Regions from separate parts of the Homo sapiens genome. Here all the other regions are linked to region 2. Evidence: promoter capture Hi-C in 16 types of primary human blood cells and fetal thymus (Javierre and others, 2016). All regions are on one chromosome and are shown on one strand. The core of a region is centred on a gene start or on the middle of the fragment in contact, and the rest is flanking DNA. Distances in the headings are between cores, read along the strand shown. Region 1 overlaps NUF2 (NUF2 component of NDC80 kinetochore complex). Region 2 holds the start of UAP1 (UDP-N-acetylglucosamine pyrophosphorylase 1). Region 3 overlaps DUSP12 (dual specificity phosphatase 12).

The links. The method cuts DNA at HindIII sites, captures the fragments that hold promoters and counts their contacts. A CHiCAGO score of 5 or more calls a contact.
Region 1: a contact is called between a fragment that was not itself captured here and the fragment with the promoter of UAP1 in region 2, in 1 of 17 cell types (fetal thymus). The highest score is 7.7, in fetal thymus.
Region 3: a fragment that was not itself captured here is called in contact with the fragment with the promoter of UAP1 in region 2 in 1 of 17 cell types (non-activated CD4 T cells); the score reaches 6.0 in non-activated CD4 T cells.

The regions. Positions count from the first base shown.
Region 1 is chr1:163,327,768-163,331,209 of GRCh38, reverse strand. NUF2 (NUF2 component of NDC80 kinetochore complex) reads right to left here. Exons shown (of 14, transcript NM_145697.3): 4 at 2,906-2,982; 5 at 2,303-2,364. Among named protein-coding and RNA genes, the nearest start is that of NUF2, 7.5 kb to the right of the region's middle. The HindIII fragment of the contact is 204 bases long and covers 1,472-1,675 here.
Region 2 is chr1:162,559,746-162,563,382 of GRCh38, reverse strand. UAP1 (UDP-N-acetylglucosamine pyrophosphorylase 1) reads right to left here and starts at 1,661. Exons shown (of 11, transcript NM_001324116.5): 1 at 1,606-1,661. UAP1-DT (UAP1 divergent transcript) reads left to right here and starts at 2,030. Exons shown (of 3, transcript XR_426859.4): 1 at 2,030-2,145; 2 at 2,731-2,908. RefSeq lists a silencer at 1,173-2,072. The HindIII fragment of the contact is 14,107 bases long and covers 556-3,637 here.
Region 3 is chr1:161,756,562-161,760,039 of GRCh38, reverse strand. It overlaps DUSP12 (dual specificity phosphatase 12), which reads right to left. Exons shown (of 6, transcript NM_007240.3): 6 at 2,802-3,254. The coding sequence ends at 3,093. Among named protein-coding and RNA genes, the nearest start is that of ATF6-DT, 7.8 kb to the left of the region's middle. The HindIII fragment of the contact is 3,741 bases long and covers 1-3,478 here.

The DNA of each region.
Region 1 (3,442 bases), core at 324-2,823, 770 kb before region 2:
GTAAAAGTTGTACATTCTGATAAAAAACATCTAAGAAAAATCCTACAACGAATACTTAATAATGAAAGACTAAATGGTTTCCCCCAAGATCAGAAACAAGGTAATGATGACTGCTCTCATCATTTCAATTCGACATTATACTAAAAGTCCCAGCCAGTGCAGAAACGTAAAAAAAAAAAAAAAAGAATAAAAGGCATCTCTATTAGAAAAAAATTTTGTCCTCAAACAAAAATTGAGAATTGTCAATAAGGAAAATCCTAAGGAATCTACAAAAAAAAAAATCTACTCAAATAATAAGTGATTTTAGCAAAGTCAATATATAAAAATCAATTGTACTTGTCTACACTAACAATGACTAATCAGAAAATTTAAATTAAATTTACAGAACCACTAAAAATTTGATTTAGGCATAAATTTAACAAAATTTATTATACAAGGTCTGCACTCTGAAATTTATAGTACATCATTATGAGAAATTTAACAGCCTTAATAAATGCAGAGATATAGCATGCATATGGATCAGAAGACCCAATATTATTAAATTGTCAAATATCCCCCAAATGAACAATACATTAAAAGTAATCTCAATCAAAATGGCTTTTTCAGGGGAAGAAGGGTAGAAAGTGACAAGCTGGAAATACTAAAATACATATAGAGATGCAAAGGACCAGAATAGCCAAAATAATCTTGACAAAGATGAAGAAAGAGGAGTAACACTGATTTCAAAATTTACTGTAAAGCTAAATAATCAAAGTACTGCTTGACATAAAGATAGACATACAGATCAATGGAGTAGAATAGCGAGCTCAAAAATAGACAAATATACAGTCAATTAATTTTTAATAGACTTCCTTTTTGAAAGGAGTTTTAAGTTCAAAGTAAATCTAAACAGGAAGTAGATAGTTCCCATATACCTTGGGTCCCCACACATGTACAAACTCCTCTCCACCAACTTCCTTCACCTGAGTGGTATATTTGTTACAACTGATGAACTTGCACTGACACATCATTATCATCCCAAATTCAGTTTACATTAGAGTTCACTCCTGGTACTGTACATTCTGAGTTTCAACACATGCATAATGACAAGTATCTACCATTAGAGTAGCATACAGAGTATTGTTACTGCCCTAAAAATCCTTAGTGCTAAAGGGATCCTATTCATCCCTCCCTCACCCCTAACCAGTGGTTTCCACTGATCTTTTCACTGTCTCCACAATATTGCCCTTTCCAGAATGATATATAGCTGTGTAGGCTTTGCAGACTGGCTTCTTTCACTTAATAATATGCATTTAATATTCCTCTATGTCTTCTCATAGCTTGCTAGCTAATTTCCTTGTAGTGTTGAATAACTTCTATTCTCTAGATGTACTACAGTTTATTCATTCACCAAGGCTACTTTCAAATTCTGGTAATTATGAATAAAGTTGCTCTAAACATCTGTGTTTAAGTTTTTGTGTGAATATAAGCTTTCGATTCATTTGGCTAAATACCAAGGAGCATGATTGCTGGATTGTAAAGTTAAGAGTATGGTTGATGCTGTCCTGTCTACAGTGAGTGAGTTCTCACAAGATCTGGTCACTTAAAAGTGTGTGGCACCTTCCCCATTGTGCTTTTGCTCCCTCTGGCTATGTGACATGTCTGCTCCCCATTTGCCTTCTGTCATGACTAAGCTTCCAGAGGCCTCCCCAAAAGCAAGCAAATGCCAGCATCATGCTTCCTGTATAACCTGCACAACTGTGAGCCAATTAAATCCCTTTTCTTTATAAATTACCCAGTCTCAGGTATTTCTTTATAGCAATACAAGAATAGCCTAATACACACACCAAATCTCTTAACTTACAGTAACTTGATGGATAAATATCAAAGTCGAATTTAAGGACAATTAAAGCTAGAATTTTACATTCTAATATAACATTATGACTATTCTTTTAATGATAAAAGATAATTTCTATATGGTAAATAGTAATTCTTACATTTGATAAAATTGGTATGATGAATCCACTATGCAAAATCATACTTACATATTATTTGTAGTCATATTCCCAAATTTATAGAACACTTTTTAAATGGAAGGAGTTTTAAAAAAACATCAGAAAAACAGCTTTTCTGTGGCTCTCAAAAGGAAAAAAAGAAATTCAACAAGATATTAAAAATTCATACTTAAAAATGGGATATACTTTTTAAAGGCAATTTCCTTGAAGTTGTTTTTTTCCTTTTTTTTTTTTTTTACATTTACTGATGGAAAGGTGAAATGGTAGATCGAAGCCAGACATTAAAACTGTTTTAAATTCTCACTTACTTGGACATAGAATATCAGCAGTCTCAAAGTCATTCACCCGGCAGATAGGCAAAAATGAGTCCCTTGAAGATGAAGTACAAAAAGACTATTGAAAAGTATTTTGCACATTAAATGCTAAGCTATAGGATATAAACATCTTATTTTCAGAAAGAGATTTCTGGATATATTTCTTAAGGTCAGTGGACGAAGCCAGAATTCTACTATAATGTATAACCCTATAGCACTGAAATCTATTTTTTCTGTATATTAATCATGTAGTCATGCAATACTAAAGTATAGTTACAGATTCTAATAAATAGTACATAAACTTGGTGACACTAAGACTCTTTTAAGAACTCAAACCTCTTCACAAAGACGGTAAACAATTTTCGACTTACAGTATCTTAGAAGTTCAATTGAAAATATGCTGAGAAAGTGGCACAGTTGGAGGCAGTTCTGTTTGATGACAGTCTACAATTTTGAAAGTTTGAATGAATGTATATGGGATGAAATGAAAAGGAACATAGTAGGTATTCCTTACCAAAGAAAACCATGTCATTAAGAAAACTTAATGTAATATAAATACGAATGTAGACGAAGACAATAAAATCACTCTTTACTCACAGATGAGTAACTAAATTGCTGAATGGTAAGAAGCCTTCCATTAAATGTGGATACATGACTTCAGAGTTCACTGGCATCTAAATGCAATAAACCACAAAATCGACATTACACATTGATTAGACAAAATGAGAAAAATCTTCAACCAAGATCAAAATATATTAACTCACTATCATTAAATTAAAAACCTTAATACATATCCTAGTATAAATGCAGAGTTTTCATCATTATTAATGCTAGGTTCACAGTAGGTGCTTAATAAAGATTTTTAAATGAATTTTAAAAATGGAATAAGGTTAGCATTTACTAAATATCAGGTATTATGCAAATAATTTGCTAAAAGCTCAGTTGCCTCATTTCAATTGTTTCAATCTTACTGCATATCTTCTACTCTAATTTGGGAGTTCTTCCTGAAAAGAGAACAATATGAAGACTTAGCTATTGTTTATTGTAGTCTCTGAAAACAAACCTATAAATCTATAACAATTGCATTGCATCAATGATCTGTGTCATTTAAGTCTTTTACTATGGTTTTCATCT
Region 2 (3,637 bases), core at 412-2,911:
CAAAAAATAAAAATAAAAAAAAAAAGGGTACCTCATAGGTTAAACTTTGATATCTGGGCGTAAACCACTGGTAACATGTGTTCATCTACATGTTGTATAATGTTCATAATGTAACGACCATACTTGAGTTTTGGACAAGCACAATTCATCTATTATATTTATTTGAGGCAGATATAAGCACCTTCATGCCACAAAAATAGTAGCATGTTTCCCATTAACGATGTTTAGAGGCACGTGTAATGGTAAGCAGCAATTAACAGAAGAGTTAAAAGATATGGATTTTTATTTTGACAACCGAAATCTGAAAAAGTTGAAAATCTGCTCGAGAAATTATGACAAAACTTGGTACATGCCCACAGCCTAATCCATCTGCATCAAAATATATGAAAAATTTGGTAATAATCTACCATTATCAAATATATTTTTATTAGAATTTAAATACCAGTATTAAAGAAATCCAGTATTTCTCCCTCCTTTTCTGGCTTCCCCCACCCAGCCCCTATCTCTGCTGGTATACGTATGCCCTCGAAATGAATAAGTAAACCTCTTAAAGCTTTTGAAAAACAGTATCAGAGTTGAGACATAACCACCAACTGAATCCTATAAATGCTTGGCAGCACAGCCTATGAAGTCTTTCTTTGCTCCAGCTAAGTGAGCCAACTGACTAACCGTGAAGGAATAGACAACTGCCTTGAGTTTCCGGCGAACTCTTGGATCCACACCCAGTGAATTTCACCTAAAAGTCCTTAAACTTTTGCAATACCAAATGACACACACATATGATCATAATCCTATTACCTGATTTCAGATTTCATAAACCATGTAGAAGTAAGTGTAGCACAGCGACAGGCCAAAGTTCAAGCAGCCATATGTTCAGCATACGTGTGCTCAGCCCTCCAATACCATCCTTCTGCTTGGCCAAGAGAGGGGAAACCCAGAAATTTCAATTCTCTCTCACTACCAGTATCATGGCAAACCAAACCAAAAAAAAGAAAGAAAAAAGTGGCAAGCAAACAGGTTTTGTCCCACTGTCCTGTCCTCCAAATGTATCCCCTGTCTTTGTCAGACCTCTCAAATCTTTTCCTCATATATTCAAGACACACCAACTCGCTTCCACCTGACAGTGCCAACGATCTCCTGTCCCACTACAGGCCCCCACACTTGGTATAACTGTCCACAAGGCCCTAGCCTGAGAGCCTCGAGGTCTCTACTGCCCACCCGGGAGAGGCCCCACTCCCAACCCCACACGCCTACACGACCCCCTCGGACTCAGACACTGGCCCAGACCTCCTCCCACAACGCCCCCAGTCCATCTGGGGCGCGCTCATTCCATCCCTGGCCCCGCCATCCACCCGGCTGCCCAGCCCACACACCCTCTCGCGGGGTGGCGGAGGATGGGGTGCGACTGCGGGGCGCACGGGCTGGGGTGTGTGTCTGCGGGCGAGCGGGAGGCTCCTCGGCGTGTGCTCGGCTGCCCGCGCTGTGCACGTTCGTGCGACGCGTGTCCACGTCTGAGCGCGTGGCCGTGTGTGCGGTGGGGCCAGGCCCTCCGCCCGCCCGGGTCCCGAGCCCCGCCGTCTCCTCGCTGGGCTGGGAGCCCCTCACCTTTCTCGGCGCGACCGCAGCTACGACCGTCTCCAGCTCCTTCCGCGCGGCCACTCATCGGCGTCCCGCGCTCGCTCCGAATATATACCCTCATCCGGGGGGCCGCGGCGGCGGGGCGGGCCGGGAGCGGGGGCCAAGTGGAGCGCCAGCCCCGGCCACCCCGCCCCTCTCGCCACGACTAGTGGCTGCCGACGCCTGAAGGAGTGGAAGCCGACCGCCCAGACACGTCAGCGCCGGGAGCACAGACGACGACGCGGACGCGGAGGCGGCCGCGGCCCGGGGCGCCGGGGCGGGGCTAGGGATGGGGGCCGGGCATGAAAGGAGTAACCCACCGGGCCGGGGCGGGGCCTAGTGCGTCACTCATTCTCTGGCCCAATGGGAATAGTTCTGGAGCGCAGTCGGCTGGCGTCCCGGTCCCTCCTGCGCACTAACTGAGGGTGAAGGATGTCGGTTGGGTCTGCTAGGAGGGGCCAGGAGCCGGCCGGCAGAGAGCGGCTCGTGGGTCCCAGGACCCCTGACGTCCCTAGGTTGTACTGGGAGGTGCGAGCCCGAGGCTCTTAGTCGGCCCAGCGGCACGGGGCACAAGCGGGCCACAGAGATGGGCAGGGAGCTGTGTCCCCAGGGTGGCGGATTTCCGAGCCACCCACGCGGGTGGTTGGGAAAGGGCGGTGGATTTTCCTGCGGAGAAACTTTCAGGGCGGGCCTGGCGCGCTCTCTGACCTTGGGCTAGTTATTTTGTGTGCAGTTCACAAGATGCCTGGCCGGGCTCCAAACTCGCTCTCTGTTTGGTTGTGTTTTGGCTCCCAAGAAGGCGAAGCCAGGCCTTTTTTCTTTTGCACAAACAGACAGGAAAGGAGAGAGGAAATGCAAGCAAAGGTAGTAGGTAACCTAAGGTAGTATAAGCCCGGGGTCATCTTTGTGAGTTTGCAGACTTAACGTCGCTAGGCCTCAGTACTCTGCAGAAAGATGGTGGAGGACCTAGATGACCTCCCAGGCCATTCCAGGACCAGTGTTTACAGTCCTGTTACATAACCTAGTGTGGGTGTGCACACACAGGTTATTATATGTTCAGCACTGTGCCCTTGGAAGCTATGTTTACATTTAAAGTTGTGTTGCATTTTGCAGCTTTTGCAAGAAGTGGAATATGTTGAAATACGAAAATACCTAGATTTAACATACCACCTATCATAAAGAGATTCAGGCGCCTTTCTTCTACTTTCTTGGGTGCAAAGGCCTTTTCATTCCCTTTACCAATTGCATAATCACCCACTGCCTCAAGTAACAACAGAAAAACTTAAACTTGGTAAGTAATGCTGGTAGATTTACATTCAGGAGATTGAATACTCTCCATCTCTCATGATCCTAGAACTTCCTTCGTTTCTTTGAAAGAAGAATAGTGTAGTGATTGGTTTATAGTGTAGTGATTGGTTTCTTAATCATGGGATCTGAAGACAATTTCAGCTTTATTGCTTGTGATCTTTGGCAAGCTACTTGTGCTATCAGTTTTCTCATCTATAAAAAACAGACAATAAAGATGAAAATGCCATTTGGTGGTTGTATTAAACCAATCGATATAAATGAAGTATGTAAAACAGTAAACACTAAATAACCTTTAGTTATTATTTATTATTGAGCACTTATTAATTCAAACTAGGAGACCCAGATTCAAAATCAGTCTACGCTTACTAACTGTGTGACTTTGGGTAAGTCATTTAACCACTCCAAACTCCAATGTCCTTTTATGAAATGAAGCTAATACCTATTTCACATGGGTATAGTAAAAAATGAGAAAGAACCTAAGATAATGTCTGGAATATTATAGGCATTCTATAAGTCATAGATGAATGACTGAGTAAAGAGCAAAATTATTAGTTAGCAATCCTTTAAAGAAAAAAGATAGAACTGAGGTCCAGCTCAATGTTTTTAATGAACTACTATAAAATCACATTTGTACTTTTACCCTTTTTTGCTGAAGTTTCATTTGTTTGTTATTCTGGTTACTAGGCATAAGAGGGGCCATAATCTCATCTTG
Region 3 (3,478 bases), core at 365-2,864, 800 kb after region 2:
AACGTGATGTGCCCAGCTAGAACAGATGCCCCCTTCTAGAAGTGCATCTAACACCCAAATAGCCCAAATAGCTCCAAGCCGGCTTCCAGGGCTTGCTCTGGCCTCATACCTCTTACGAGTGAAATGGGCTAATGGTATACACCAGGGCTGTAGCCAGATCTTATACATATAGGTGGGGGACCCACATATATATATATGCACCAGGCTCTTCATGATGCAGAACAAATCAAGGGGTGGGGAAATAAAGGAGGCACCCAGTGGGCGGGGGCCACCTCTCCCTGCATTGCCATGCTTTGTCATGGAATCTGATAAAATCAGAGAATTCTGAATTCAAACCTGGTCTGACAGGTCATTATGAAGGGATATTTGTCAAGATAATAGAATAAAACATTTTATTTAACAGATAGCTTGATTTATAATTTTATTTTTTTAAGACAGAGTCTTGCTCTGTCGCCCAGGCTGGAGTGCAGTGGCGCGATCTCGGCTCACTGCAAACTCCGCCTCCCAGGTTCAAGCAATTCTCCTGCCTCCCCGCCTCCCAAGTAGCTGGGATTACAGGGGCCCACCACCATGCCTGGCTAATTTTATATTTTTAGTAGAGATGGGGTTTCCCTATGTTGGCCAGGCTGGTCTCAAACTCCTGACCTGCAGTGATCCACCCCCCTTGGCCTCCCAAAGTGCTGGGATTACAAGCGTGAGCCACTGCACCCGGCCAATTTATGTTTTAAAAGTTAAGACACTCATGCCTGTAATCCCAGCACTTTGGGAGGCCGAGGCGGGCGGATCACGAGGTCAGGAGATCGAGACCACGGTGAAACCCCGTCTCTACTAAAAAATACAAAAAAATTAGCCGGGCGTGGTGGCAGGCGCCTGTAGTCCCAGCTACTCAGGAGGCAGAGGCAGGAGAATGGCGTGAACCCGGGAGGCGGAGCTTGCAGTGAGTCGAGATTGCGCCACTGCACTCCAGCCTGGGCGACAGAGCAAGATTCCGTCTCAAAAAAAACAAAAACAAAAACAAAAACAAAGTTAAGACAAATAGTATATAGGCCTCGATGTGTACTATTGTTGGAACCCTGCAAATGGTGGGGAGCATGACTAGTGAATTTACAACTTAATTAACATTGCATTTGATCCATACTATTTGATTTTATAATCTGATCAACAGTGTATGATGGATAGGCATTGAGTCATATTAAACTGCAGCTATGTAACTACTTTTTACCTACAAAAGGGGTAACTTCATGTGCCGCAAACTGTTATTATTTTTTAAATAGAGACGGGGTTTTCACATATTGGCCAGGCTGGTCTTGAACTCCTGGCCTCAAATGATCCACCCTCCTTTGTCTTCCAAAGTGCTGGGACAGGCATGAGCCACCACACCTGAGCTCCTCAACCTGTTTGTTAAAACTTTCTAGAGAATAATATATGAATAGAGAATAATAGTATGAAGCAAAAAAGTAGATTTTATGAAAGCTAAAACAAATGGAGTAATTTTTTCTCAAAAGAAAAAATTATGGCAGAGAGCGGTGGCTCACGCCTGTAGTCCCAGCACTTTGGGAGGCCGAAGTGGGTGGATCACTTGAGGTCAGGAGTTTGAGACCAGCCTGGCCAACATATGGAAACCCCATCTCTACTAAAAATGCAAAATTAGCGAGATGTGGTGGCTACTTGGGAGGCTGAGGCAGGAGAATCGCTTGAACCTGGGCAGTGGAGGTTGCAGTGAACCGAGATCATGCCATTGCACTCCAGCCTGGGCAACAACAAAACTCCATCTCAAAAAAAAAAAAAAAAAATAGAAAGAAAAATTATTACATGGAAACTGCCAAAGCCTTCAGGTCCAATGTTAAGATTTTTCTCAAGAATTTTCCATAACACTCCTATACCTTTAAAAAACTGAGCTAGGCATTTATTAAGAGGATCATTATTCACAACATATTTTTGCATTTAAAAATTACTCCCACTACGGTGTTTATGTATATAAGCCTCAATGTGTACTATTGTTGGAACCCTGCAAATGGTGGGGAGCATGACTAGTGAATTTACAACTTAATTTACAACAAAAATAAAGAATATTTTTCTTTATTAATTCTTGTTCTTTTTTGGAGTAGCCTCCCAAGCAGCTGGGACTACAGGCGTGTGCCACCATGCCTGGCTGATTTTTTTATTTTTAGTAGAGACAGGGTTTCACCATGTTGGCCAGGCTGGTCTTGAACTCCTGACCTTAAATGATCTGCCTGCCTTGGCCTCCCAAAGTGCTGGGATCATAGGCATAAGCCACTGCACCTGGCCTTTATTAGTTAATTCTGATTCTTGTAAATGTTCAAATATCTAATTAGGTCCAATTGTAATTATTAATAATGAGTAAAATAATTCTAGTTTCTATACATCAGGTTAAAAAACTAATCTGGACGTATTACCTTTTCCAATACTCACATATTGGGCTACAAAATGACTTGATATATAGTAACTCTACATTTGTTTTCTTCATCATTAGAAACACATCTAACATTTATGTATTTCTTTATGTAGATCACTTCAAAAGGGATCTCAAACACTTTTCTAAAAATATAGATAATTGGGATTACTGAACAGTAATAGGAAAATTGCCTTTTAATCAGCGTTTTACTAATGGCCTTTCCATTTCCAAGAAAAAAATCCAGACATGTATGGGTTTACTAATGTCCCTTAAAAGAAAGAAAGTGAAATAATTCCAAAATATGTCCAAACAAATCTGCTTTATGTGTCTGGAAATAAAAGAATACCCATTTAAATATAATAGTTTCAAATTTTTGTACATAATTTTGTCTATACAGACCTTAAGATCATATAACATTCCAACAATCAAAACTTTTAAAAATATATGAAACACAGACAGTATCTGGTTATAAAAGATTTTAATATCAAATAAAATGTACATGATCAAAAGGCTTTGATTGCCATGTAAAGCATAGTTTCCAGGTTACATCAAGTGATTTTATCTTCTCCCATTTCAAATGAAATGTTGAAAGCACAAACAATCTGCCATGAATGATAAGAAGCAAAGGCAGCACATATCATCTGCAAGTTTCTTCCCAAGCTATAAAATATCATGTTCATATTTTTCCTGTTTGTGATCCCAAAACAGGCAATATTTTCATTTCATCCACTCTATTCTTATGTATTTGAAAAGCAGGTGTTATCCACCTACCACAAGAGCACTGTTCACCATACCAGTTGAAGGAACCCAACTTGGCACTGCATTTTGGGCAAAGAAGCTGAAATAAAGCAAATGTGTTACTTTATTCATTCACTTTTATACAAAACAAATCATTATCTTTGGCAATCAATATAGGATATAAAAACAAGACACGATCCCCACGTTGAGTTTATAATCTAATCAGTGAGATAAAATGCATTGGAAATTTACTGTAATAGATAGTAGACTACAATTATCTCATAGGAAGAATGTTGTATTCAGGGAGCTTGAAGGGAGAAAAGT